Regions from separate parts of the Homo sapiens genome. Here regions 1 and 3 are each linked to region 2. Evidence: promoter capture Hi-C in 16 types of primary human blood cells and fetal thymus (Javierre and others, 2016). All regions are on one chromosome and are shown on one strand. The core of a region is centred on a gene start or on the middle of the fragment in contact, and the rest is flanking DNA. Distances in the headings are between cores, read along the strand shown.

Evidence for each region. The method cuts DNA at HindIII sites, captures the fragments that hold promoters and counts their contacts. A CHiCAGO score of 5 or more calls a contact.
Region 1: a fragment that was not itself captured here is called in contact with the fragment with the promoter of EPN3 in region 2 in 6 of 17 cell types (endothelial precursors, M2 macrophages, M1 macrophages and 3 more); the score reaches 9.1 in endothelial precursors.
Region 3: a fragment that was not itself captured here is called in contact with the fragment with the promoter of EPN3 in region 2 in 5 of 17 cell types (megakaryocytes, M1 macrophages, M0 macrophages and 2 more); the score reaches 7.0 in megakaryocytes.

Annotation. Positions count from the first base shown.
Region 1 is chr17:50,722,109-50,725,973 of GRCh38, reverse strand. All of the region lies in intron 1 of LUC7L3 (LUC7 like 3 pre-mRNA splicing factor), which reads right to left. Among named protein-coding and RNA genes, the nearest start is that of LUC7L3, 4.4 kb to the right of the region's middle. RefSeq lists an enhancer at 539-1,038. The HindIII fragment of the contact is 2,482 bases long and covers 65-2,546 here.
Region 2 is chr17:50,531,359-50,535,480 of GRCh38, reverse strand. EPN3 (epsin 3) reads right to left here and starts at 2,746. Exons shown (of 10, transcript NM_017957.3): 1 at 2,496-2,746. It overlaps MYCBPAP (MYCBP associated protein), which reads right to left. Exons shown (of 19, transcript NM_032133.6): 19 at 3,980-4,122. The coding sequence ends at 4,053. RefSeq lists enhancers at 527-1,203, 1,204-1,880. The HindIII fragment of the contact is 5,271 bases long and covers 2,493-4,122 here.
Region 3 is chr17:50,663,342-50,667,375 of GRCh38, reverse strand. It overlaps ABCC3 (ATP binding cassette subfamily C member 3), which reads right to left. Exons shown (of 31, transcript NM_003786.4): 9 at 3,518-3,695; 10 at 3,265-3,426; 11 at 2,131-2,223. Among named protein-coding and RNA genes, the nearest start is that of ABCC3, 30 kb to the right of the region's middle. The HindIII fragment of the contact is 7,512 bases long and covers 1-4,034 here.

The DNA.
Region 1 (3,865 bases), core at 56-2,555, 190 kb before region 2:
TACAAAATTATTACAGTATTACAGTATGTACTATAGTTAATTTTATGCAGTTATTACTCAAGCTTTACTTTCTCTGGACTGCTAGTGGCACCATGTACTGTGTGCATAAGTTTTTATAAAGTTTAACTTTTTATGATTCGTATGTATTTTGTGGTAGGAAAATGATAAACTAGTATATACATCTATTTTATGTATTTGTGATGTACTTATCTTTTCTTAAATTTTAAAAATATTTCTAAGCTATGTGATTCGTCTTCAAGTTTTTTCAAATTGTTGCAAATCTCCAAAAAATGTTCCAATATATTTATTGAAAAAACTCCACGTATAAATGGACACACTCAACTCAAACCCGTGTTGTTCAAGGGTCAATTTTACTTTTCCCAATGGTAGGATTTATCATATTCTGTTATGGAAATGCGTTTACATTCAATTGGAATAATCCCCATTGGAAAAAAAAAGTGCATTTACTGTCACCAATACATGATGGCTCTTTAGGACCAAGTGCTGTATCTGTACTATCCTGCTGTTATCTACCTAAGAGCAATACTTTTAATTTTTTTTTTGAAATGGAGTCTTGCTCCTGTCACGCAGGCTGGAATGCAGTGGCGTGATCTCGGCTCACTGCAACCTCCACCTCCCGGGTTCAAGCGATTCTCCTTCCTCAGCCTCCCGAGTAGCTGGGATTACAGGCGTGCGCCACCACACCTGGCTAATTTTTGTATTTTTAGTAGAGACAGGGTTTCGCCATGTTGGCCAGGCTGGTCTCAAACTCCTGAGCTCAGGTGATCCACCCGCCTCAGCCTCGCAAAGTGCTAGGATTACAGGCGTGAGCCACCGCTCCCAGCCGAGCAATACATTTTTGTTGGATAAATGAATACAACAATTTTCCTAACTTACTATAAGAAATGAAGAGAAAGGCTGGGCATGGTGGCTCACCCCTGTAATCCCAGCACTTTGGGAGGCCGAGGGAGGATCACTTGTTGTCAAAAGTTCAAGACCAGCCCGGCAAACATGGTGAAACCCCATCTCTACAACAACACAAAAATTAGTCAGGCATGGTGGCATGCACCTGTAATTCCACCTACTCTGGAGGCTGAGGCAGGAGAATCGCTTGAACCCGGGAGGTGGAGGTTGCAGTGAGCTGAGATCACACCACTGCACTCCAACCTGGGCAACAGAGCAAGACTCCATCTCGGGGGTAAAAAAAAAAAAAAAAAGAGAAAATATTTCATAAAACGAAGAACTGTATTAGCAAAAAAGTCAAATTTACAAACTTAAGCTACCTTCTCCTTTTGTGAGGAAATCAAGGCTAATAACATATATAATGACACACACACACACACACACACACACACACACACAATTTTCCTAAAGCAACCAAAGATTTACGAAATACCTTACTATAATTTTCAGTGATTATGGTATTGTGGTTATTTTATTCTATTTTTTTTTTGAGACAGAGTGTCACTCTGTTGCCCAGGCTGGACTGTGGTGGCACCATCTCGGCTCACTGCAACCTCTGCCTCCTGGGTTGAAAGGATCCTCCTGCCTCAACCTCCAGAGTAGCTGGGATTACAGGAATGCACCACTACGCCCAGCTAATTTTTTTATTTTTTATTAGAGACAGGGTTTCACCATGTTGGCCAGGCTGGTCTCGAACTCCTGGCCTCAAGTGATCTGCCTGCCTTGGCCTCCCAATGTTGAGATTACAGGTGACCCACCATGCCCGGTCGGCTATGTTTTTTTTTTAAAGTCCTTGTATTTTACAGATATACAATGACCGCTTTAAGGTTGACAATAACAGAATTGCTTCAAAATAATGGAAGGGATACAGAGGAAATAATATTGACTATGTGCTAATATTGCTAAATTGGGCATGGGTACATGGGGAGTTCAATTTATTATACTATTCACTCTAATTCTGTATGTTTTGGGAAGAAAAGCAAATAGCAATTACATACACATATAACACATGGACTGCTGGCAATTCTGAGAAGCCAACACTTACTATTTTACTATGGAGTAAGGTAGGAAATGCCAGCCGGGCGCAGTGGCTCACGCCTGTAACCTCAGCACTTTGGGAGACTGAGGCGGACCGATCACTTGAGGTCAGGAGTTCAAGACCAGCCTGGCCAATATGGCAAAACCCTGTCGACTAAAAATACAAAAATTAGCCGGGCGTGGTGGCCCACACCTGCAATCCCAATTACTCGGGACGCTGAGGCCAGGAGGTGGAGGTTGCAGTGAGCCAAGATCATGCCACTACACTCCAGCCTGGGTGACAGAGCTAGACTCTGTCTCAAAAAAAAAAAGGGGGGGGGGCAGGGAGCAGGGTAGAAAATGCTTTTCTATCTTACTCCATAGTAACATAGTAAGTTACTATGAACATTTTGGTGACTCTGAATGAAAACTAGTAAAATACATATTAATAGATGCCATCATGCATTATAATTACTAGTTTTTTGCTTTCAATTTTTGCTCCCAAATTCTGAACATTTTTAAAGCAAAAAGAAAAAGTATACAAGTAAAAAATGTGGACAGAAGCTTTAGCTATTTTTCCTTTTCTAAACAACTTTTCAGTGTCAATGACAGTATCTGCTAACATTCCAAAGATTTTAGAAAAGAACATAGTTCAATTTCCTTCATAAATTATTAAACCTTCATGTTAAACCTTCATGGAAGGAAGGGTAGGCTTGAGTTTGATAAATGGAAGAAAACTCATTTCAGATATTAGAATCAGTGTTAATGATTAAGTAATTTCATTTTCAGGTTGAGATCTAGAATATAAAAACCTCAATTTGAACTACAAAATTTCTGTCTTGCTACATAAAAAATAACAAAACTCCCGATCAGACTTTACAATTTACTACAATCTTCTAATAATATGGCTACTAGTGCCTTCTCTGGCTAACACTGAAATCAAACCCTCACTGAAAGGTACTCACCCTAGGCAGTTAGTTACAATCACATGCTTTCCTCATCACTGTGGTTGTTTAGGATTAACCAAGCAATTGCTTAGTGCAAAAAACCAAAACAATAATCTCAAACAATTGCAAAATACAAATAAACACGGTGGGAGGGTGTACCAATGAATCCATGAAACAGTATTAAAGCCGACTTCACTTTAGCTGCAGTTTCTCAGATCCAGAGGTAGCAATCTACAAAGTTGGAAATGCCTGTAAAAGCACTAGCCCCAGTAAAATACCTTGGTGAAGGTTACATACACACCATTACAAATAAATGGTCGATGATTTTGCATCACAGATGCATCCTTCACTTGAAACTGCGCTTCGCAAGTGCTGCTTGCTCACTTATTACCCATCATGAAAAGGAGAAAAAAGTACAGTATTAGAATCTACTACCAAATTAATACCAATTAAGATTTAATTGTGCAGATATGCACAATTAAAAGCCCAGGACTAATCAGGATGGGTCAGGAAACAGTAGGTCACAAACTTTAGAATGCATAAGAGGAGCCGGCCGGGCGCGGTGGCTCGCGCCTGTAATCCCAGCACTTTGGGAGGCCGAGGCGGGCAGATCACGAGGTCAATAGATCGAGACCATCCTGGCCAACATGGTGAAACCCCATCTCTATTAAAAATATAAAAATTAGCTGGGCGTGGTGGAGGGCGCCTGTAGTTCCAGCTACTGGGGAGGCTGAAGCAGGAGAATCGCTTGAACCCGGGAGGCGGAGGGTGCAATGAGCCAAAATCACGCCATTGCACTCCAGCCTGGGAGACAGAGCAAGACGCCGTCTCAAAAAAAAAAAAAAAAAAAAAAAAGAATGCATAAGAGGAGCCATAAAAAATGCAGATACTGGGACCCTTCCCCAAGACAGACAGAATCTGACTCTCTGGGAAGGGGA
Region 2 (4,122 bases), core at 1,497-3,996:
CGTTTGAGGAAGACTGCCCCTCAGAGTTCTGGCCACTGCCAACACTCCTGCATGCCACCCCCACGTACACATGGAAGTGTTGAGGCCAGAGAGGGGATGGGACCTGCCTGCATCATATGGCACGTAAGTGGCAGAGCCTGGACTACCATCCAGGACTCCAGAAGACTAATCCAATTCTTATTGTCAGTGTTACCCAGTTTGGTCATTATTTCATCGGATTGCTTTACTGTCTCAGTCCCACCTTCTCAGCTAGAATGGAAGCTCCCTGAGAGTAGGAACAGTCTGGGTTCTCCAAAGCCCCAAAACGCTGGACACATAGTGGACCTCTGGTACCCCAGCAGGGAGAAGAGCTGGGCCAGCCCAATTCCCCCCAGTAGCCACAGGTCCAGGCTATCTGCTGAATACAACTCCAGGCCCAAGGTCCTCCCAAAGGCCCTTTCAGAAACCAAAAGAGGAATTCCCTGACCACCACCATTCCTCCCACACTAGCACTGGTGTGTGCATGCACACACACACTGTCTGGGCCTGCAGAGCCTCCACTTCACCCGTGAACTGTCCCCCACCCACCAAACACCTTTCGGCTCCACCCTCCATCCCAGCCCGTGCCCCAACTGGTCCCCAGGCTGCCAGAAGCAGGAATCTGAAGGAGACTGTCCTCTCGCACCCGATTCCACGCTCCTTCCACCCCAGCCCCGCCAGTGCTGGGCTCAGTTCAAAGCAGCCCCACGCTTTGAAAACATGCCTTGGCAGGTTTTGTTGGGGGCCCAGAGAATAAGATACCGTGGGAGTGGGCGAGGTGGAGAGTGCCTGGCCCACAGCGCAGCCTACCTTTTGTCTGCTATCTCTTTCCTTCCAGCGGGTCGTGGGCCTTCTGTGGGAATGCCACGGCCACAACTTGTTTAACTCCTGCCCTCCCCCTTGCTAGTGACTCAGACCTGCCTTCACCTCCCCAACCCGTGGCTGGGGGTGGCAGAGTCAAGATGGGAAATAATGTGCACCAAAGCCCGCCCAGCACACGCCCCTACCGGCTGGCCGCTGGAACTAGCAGAACCAGTCGGGCACTGTGACTGCACCAGAGCCCTACCTGGACCTGGCTGCCCTGGCCCTCCGGCCTGGCCTGTGTGGGGGCACCAGCCTCTGGGAGGGGACTCTCGGTGTGGGCCCAGCGGCCCTGCCTGGACCTTTCTCACAGAAGGTGGGCATTCTCTGCACACCCCTGCAGGGGCTGGGGGGAAGGGCGGGGCCAGAAACATGGGGAGGCACCTTGATTTTCCTTCTCTGGAGTTTGAGGGGACAAGGTGAGGCTGCCCAAGCACAGAGAAGGGAGGAGGAAAGGAAGAAGCCTGCCCAAGCGCAGAGAAGGGAGGAGGAAAGGAAGAAGCCTGCCCAAGCGCAGAGAAGGGAGGAGGAAAGGAAGGAACGCGGGAACGCGGGAGGGAGCAGCTGGGAGCGCTGCCAGCAGTGTTACAAGCAAAGGGTTTTATCGAACACGATATGCCCAGAAATAAAAGGGAGTGTAACAGAAACCCAGCGGCCGATAAGGCGGTGGCGGTAGCAGCAGCAGCCCTGGGCAGCTGGGTATGGAATTACTGCAGTGACCTTGAGCCAGACCCTGTCAGGTGGAGGGAAGGGCACAGAGAGGGCAGGGCCTGAGAATTCAGAGATGACGAGAGGGCAGAGGAGGGAGGAAGCTGAGGGGATGGGAGCAGGGCCAGCAGGCGGTGGGATGGGCCACGGGGCACGGAGTATCAGCTCTCTCCTGCATACAGGGTCCCAAGGAGAACTGCGCAGTAGGGAGGGGCTGCTCTTCTCAGGGCCTGCAGGATGGGGGGATCTGGAGAGTTTCCCAAAAGTCAGGACCGAAAAATGCAGATCGCTCATCCCCAGCAAGGGTTTCGGAGAGATGGAGAGAACCCAGATCTGTCCAGTCACACGTGCATGAGTTTGCGTAAAGTCTGTGCACCCACCAGCCCAGCCCACACCCTCTTCCCGTCCTCTGCTAAGGTGGGCTCCAGCCCCTGCCTCCAAGTCAGATCCAGCCTGAGCAGTGGGGAATGACAGTGCCCTTCTTGATGCTGTAAGGGACAGGGGGTGAGCTTGAACTCTAAGCTTCTGGCCACTGTAATAGCTGCATCCCGGGAGCACAGAAGATGGGGGAGGGGGGACTGCCCTGAGGCTAGAGGTGTGCATGAGGGGCTGAAGAAGAGGAAACAGCAGAGATGTGCAGAAGGAGTCTGTGGGGAATGCCACCAAAGATGCTAAGATGCCACCAAAGATGCTAAGTCCCAGGATGGTTGGGGAGGGGGCCCTGAGTCCCTTTTTGGGGGCGGCAGGGAGGGAGGGGTGGCAGGAAAGAAGCCTTTAGGTCCTCTACAGCTCAGCCTTCTCCCTCGCACCTGGAAAAGAGACTAAGCCCCAGAACCACTGTTTGCTCCCCACCAACCCCCGCCTTCCATGCCGCCACTGCCAGGGAGGGGGCCAGGGAGGAAGCTTACCTCCAGTGCGGGCTCCCTCGGCCCCAGCCCCAGCCCGAGTAGCCTCTGCGGTGACCCTCCGACCTGTGCAGCAGCGGGACGGCACAGCCTCGGGAGCGTCTCCAGAGCCATCCACCATGGACCCTCGTCCCAGAGACCCACCTGCTCCCAGGAGGTGCAGACCCCTCAGAGGGGCAGCGGCAGGGTCCCTGGAATGGGTAGCAGCTCTTCCCGCGTGCGTTTGCCTCCTAGCCAGCGCCAGGCAGCACTCCGAGGAAAGTTGCTCAGCTGGCCCGGCAGGTCTGCCTCAGCAGTAACAGGACACAGGAGGAAGTGCAGGGCAGGTTAACCCCTTCCTGCTGGCCAGGCAAGTGGTGCATTGAGAGGTGGGGGGCCTGCCTGTTGGCCGCCCCCAGGAAGTGCACATCTGGAGCCAGTGCTGGCGACCTGATCCCCTCTGCTTTGAGTTAACCCTTCCCCTGCCTCTTCAACAGGAAAGGAGGGGGGCTCCAACACCCCCACCACACCCCTCCCCTTCCTCCTCTGGGCCGGGAGGACATTAAAGGAGAGGGCAGGGACATTCCCTGGGGCTGGCTCTTTGGTGGAGCCCCCGTCTTCTCGTCTTCTTGGGGAGGAGAGCATCAGGACTCCAGCACAGCCCCCTCCCTGCCTTTCCCACACGGAGTCAGATCCTTCTGTCCATCCTCCCCCTCCTGCATCTCAGCTGGAGGATGCCTGAGGCCCACTTAAGGATGCCCACCCACCCAAAAACCAAAGTTGTTCTTCAAACTCTGGGAGCCTGGAGTGCTCTTCACACAGGGAGCCCAGCCCCAAATGGTTATGACTGACAGAAGACAATGAGGGGCCTGAGTTTGAGCTGACAATACCTTTTTTTCTGAGAGCCATTTCTAGCCTGTTTCATGTTCCCCTGAGCAAGGGAGGTAGCATGAAGATCAGCAGCTGTTTTTAAGGCAGAAAGATGGCTCAAGGCCAGATAGTTTGAGATGAGGAGGGGGATAAGGCAGACTAGACCCCGAAATAACAAGGTGATGTGGCCTCTAGAGCTGAAGAGGTGTGGTGAGCATGATCTTCAGGGACTGAATTGGGGCCCTGGGACCCAGCTGAAGAGGGGAGATGGCAGGGAGCCAGGTCCCATGGGTCTAGTTCTACTCCTCATCTCACACTTTGTCATACTTGGTGATGACACTTCGGGAAGACCTGGCTCCAGGAAGCACGACCCTGAAAGTGTGGGCCAAGGAAGCCAGAGGCAGGGACTACCAGAGGTGACACACTGTCCTGTCACCTGACTCCTTGTCTTGCTACCAATCTGCTCCTCTGCTTGGCATCCCACACATCACTTCCCCAGCTATGTCTGTCTGTCCTCCTGCAGGAGGGCTCTGGCAGCTGGCAGGAGGGGATCTGAGGGCAGGTGGAACATGGGAGGACCTGGATCAGGAGCTGACCTAGCCAAGATCCATCATGCAAGACACAGAGGCACACGGAAGTAGTAGAAACTTGAAGGTTCTTTATTGATTTATTTATTAACCCGTTTTCCAGAAGGTTGCTTGGGCCCGAGAGTCACCTGCAGAGGCGCAAAGCCTCCTCGACATTCTTTATGGGGCTGAGCTCATCAGCCAGGACCATCAGG
Region 3 (4,034 bases), core at 1,302-3,801, 130 kb before region 2:
CCTCCCTGTGTCCTCTGCCTGACAAGATCCATCTCCACCCTCAGTGCCACTGCACCGGCCTCCCCAGGCAGCATCCTCTGTCCCCTGCCCTGGGTTTCTTCTCCTACTACTTCTTTTTCTTCTTCTTATTATTATTGCTAGTATTATTTATTTTAGAGATGGTGCCTCACTGTGTTGCCCAGGCTGGACTGCAGTGGTACAATCATAGCTCACTGCAGCCTCAAACTCCTGGGCTCCTTTGATCCTCCTGTCTCAGCCTCCTGACTAGCTGGAACTACAGGCATGAACAACCATGCCCAGCTAATTTTTAAATTTTTTTGTAGGGACGAGGTCTCACTCTGTTGCCCAGGCTGATTTCAAACTCCTGGCCTCATGTGATCCTCCCACCTTGGCCTCCCCAAGTGCTGGGATTACAGGTGTGAGCCACCACACCTGGTCCCCTTCCCTGGGTTTCTAAAGCACATTGCACTTTCCTTTTGTTCCATAACCATTCCTTTACATATATGTTTCTCTAATCAGACTGTGAGCTTCCTGAGGGGATGGACTATTTATTTCTCTTTGTTCTCCAAGACCTTAGCCCAAGGTGTGGCACACCAGATTAATGTATTCATTCAACCCCTATTTATGGAGTGCCTACTATGTGCCAGGCCATGGGCTACGTGTAGAATTTGTCACGATGAATTCAGACAAGGCCCCTGCCATGATACAGCTGACGATCTGATGGGGGAGGCATACAATAAGCAAACAATGATCTGAATAAATGCTTAATTATTAATCATTATGTGTGTTCTGATGGGAAATCACAGGATCCTGTAAGAAAGTAATGAGGTGATGGCAGGGAAACTAACTTAGACTGAGACTGGGCAGTCAGGGTGGACTTCTGGAGGAAGTGACTTTTTTTTTTGAGACGGAGTTTCGCTCTTGTTGCCCAGGTGGGAGTGCAATGGCGCGATCTTGGCTCACCGCAACCTCTGCCTCCTGGATTCAAGGGATTCTCCTGCCTCAGACTCCAGAGTAGCTGGGATTACAGGCATGTGCCACCATGCCCGGCTAATTTTGTATTTTTAGTAGAGACGGGGTTTCTCCATGTTGGTCTGGCTGGTCTCGATCTCCCAACCTCAGGTGATCCACCTGCCTCGGCCTCCCAAAGCTCTGGGATTACAGGCATGAGCCACCGTGCCCAGCCGAGGAAGTGACTTCAATGCCGAGAGGTAAGGGAAGGAAAGGAGTTAGGCAGGCAAGAGGGGGATGACAAGCATTCCAGGCAGAGGGAATAGTATATGTGGTGGCCCCTAGAGGTACCCTGAGCTTGGTGCTGTGGAGAAAAGAAAGAAGACCAGACTGGCTGAAACTTGGCCAGTCCGCAGGGGGTGAGGACTTGCAAGGTAAGCAGAAGCCTGCTGAGTCTTCTTAGGGGGTTTGTCATTTTTCCTATGGGCAGTGGGAAGCTAGTAGACTTCAATAGGCCAGGTGTGATGGCTCACACCTGTAATCCCAGCACTTTGGGAGGCTAAGATGAACGGATCACCTGAGGTCAGGAGTTTGAGACCAGCCTGGCCAACATGGTGAAACCCCATCTCTACTAAAAAAAAAAATACAAAAATAAGCCGGGTGTGGTGGCATGTGCCTGTAGTCCCAGCTACTAGGGAGGCTGAGGCAGGAAGATCGCTTGAACCCGGGAGGCAGAGGTTGCAGTGAGCCGAGATCATGCCACTGCATTCCAGCATGGGTGACAGAACGAGACCCTGTCTCAAAAAAAAAAAAAAAGAAAAAAAACACTTCAAGAAATGTTTGCAAATAGTAGACTGAGTGACTGGCTATTCATGCTTAGCACAGTGCAGCGGGAAAACTCCTTGTTAGACCAGGATAGTCAGGTTTGAGTCCCAGCCCTGCCTGATTCTGGACTGCCATTATTTCTCTAAGCGTTGGTCTTCTGCTACAAAATGAGAATGTCAGTAAAACCCTCTGAGAGCTGTGAGGGAAGAGTGAGCTATGGTTTCTGCAAATGGCTAGTAGCCATCCATACTCAGGAAGCAAGGTAGTTGGGAGGCCCCAAGGTTAGTGGACACCTTCCCCCAGGCAGCCGGCCGGGTGCTGCAGGCAGGAGGATGCACCTCTGACAGCACCTACCTGGAAGGCGCGCATCTTCACGGCCACAGCTCCGTTGAGTGGAATCAGCAAGACCATGAAAGCGACTCCAGCCAGGACAGAGGGACCTAGGTTCTGAGGAGGCACCGGTGGATAGATGACACATAGGGACAGATTACCAAAGTCTACAGAGAGAACCCAACAGGCAAACAGAGGCCTGTTAACTTGAAATGTGTAGATGGGCAGGAAGCAAAAGATGGTGGTTGGCCAAACAGATAGAAAGTCAGAATGACCACAACATTTGTAGAAGCAGCCAGCCATTAGATAACGACGACAGGGACAGACAGCAGATATAGAAGGGTGTCCAGACACACAGGAAGGCAAATATAGACGATGACAGCCAGAGTCACACCCACCTCCCTCCAAGACTTTCTTTCCTCCCTGGCTTCTGCAGGAAGGATAGCAACAGATGTTGGGAAGATTCCTTTGCAGACATCAGCATCCTCGAAGTCCTATCCCTCCATCCCCACCAATGCCTAGGGAAGCTCTTGTGTCAATTCTTTTTTTTTTTTTTTTTTTTTTTTTGAGACAGAGTCTTGCTCTGTCACCCAGGCTAGAGTGCAGTGGTATGATCTCGGCTCACTGCAACCTCTGCCTCCTGGGTTCAAGCGATTCTCCTGCCTCAGCCTCCTGAGTAGCTGTGACTACAGGCACCCGCCACCACGTCTGGCTAATTTTTGTATTTTTAGTAGAGATGGGGTTTCACCATCCTGGCCGGGCTGGTCTCGAACTCCTGACCTCGTGATCCACCCGCCTTGGTCTCCCAAAATGCTGGGATTACAGGCGTGAGCCACCGTGCCCAGCCAGCTCTTGTGTCAATTCTATATCCCCTCTGCTAACCCAGAATAACCCTCCTTCTTTTTTTCTGTTTTCTTTGTTTCTTTTTAGAGACAAGGTCTTGCTATGTTGCCCAGGCTGGAGTGTGGTGGCTATTCGCAGGCACAATCGTGGCGCACTGCAGCCAGAACTCTTGGGCTCAAGTGATCCTCTTGCCTCAGCCGCCTGAGCAGCTGGGACTACAAGCATGTGCCATGCTCCCAGTTCCAGAATAATCCTCTCTTGCCACTTCTGCAGCATGTCAGAGGAAGGAGGCAGAGGTCAGGGTTGGAGAGTCACCTGCCAGAGGAAGTAGATCGCCAGGATGATCTGCAGGGGTGCTGACCACAGCAGATTGAGGAAGGGGGCAAGGTCCATGAAGCGCTGGGCATCCACTGACATGAGGTTGACAATTTCCCCCACAGTGGACGCACGTTTGACTGAGTTGGTGATAACCAGAGCCTGCAGGTAGACAGTAGTGGGTGGACTTGGCTGCGAGCCTCTTGCAAGCTGCCCAGGGCCAGCCTTTCCCCTGGGCCCTGCTCCAGCTGACCTTCCTGTAGATGACACCCATGATCCCAGTACGAAACTTCACCCCAGTCACAAAGATGTAGTGGTAATAGTGTTGTAAGATCAGCGACTGCATCATGGAGCACAGGAACATCAGCCCAGCCACCAGGAAGCCCCACCAGGAGGGGGCCATGGGGTTGGAGATAAACCTGATCAGGATGCTGTGGGGAGGAGAGAGGAGTGAGGTGGGCAGTGCTGCCCCCATGGCTGCTCCCTCCTCTGCTGCCCTTTGCTTTTACCCGCAGTCTCCACTGCACCCCTGGCCTCTGAAACCTCCACCCCCTCCAACCTCTTGGGCCAGGGAGGGTCAACCCAGTACTGCCTCAAGACCACGACCTCCTGGCTCCACTCTGCCTTCACCTCGTTCTCTATCCACCATGGACCCTGCTGCACGCCCTATCGATGACGCTCTCACCACCAGCCTCACCTGCCTGCCTTCTTACCTCCTGACATATGGCGGGAAGAAATGCCACGTTTCCATTGACTGGACTTCCCTGCTC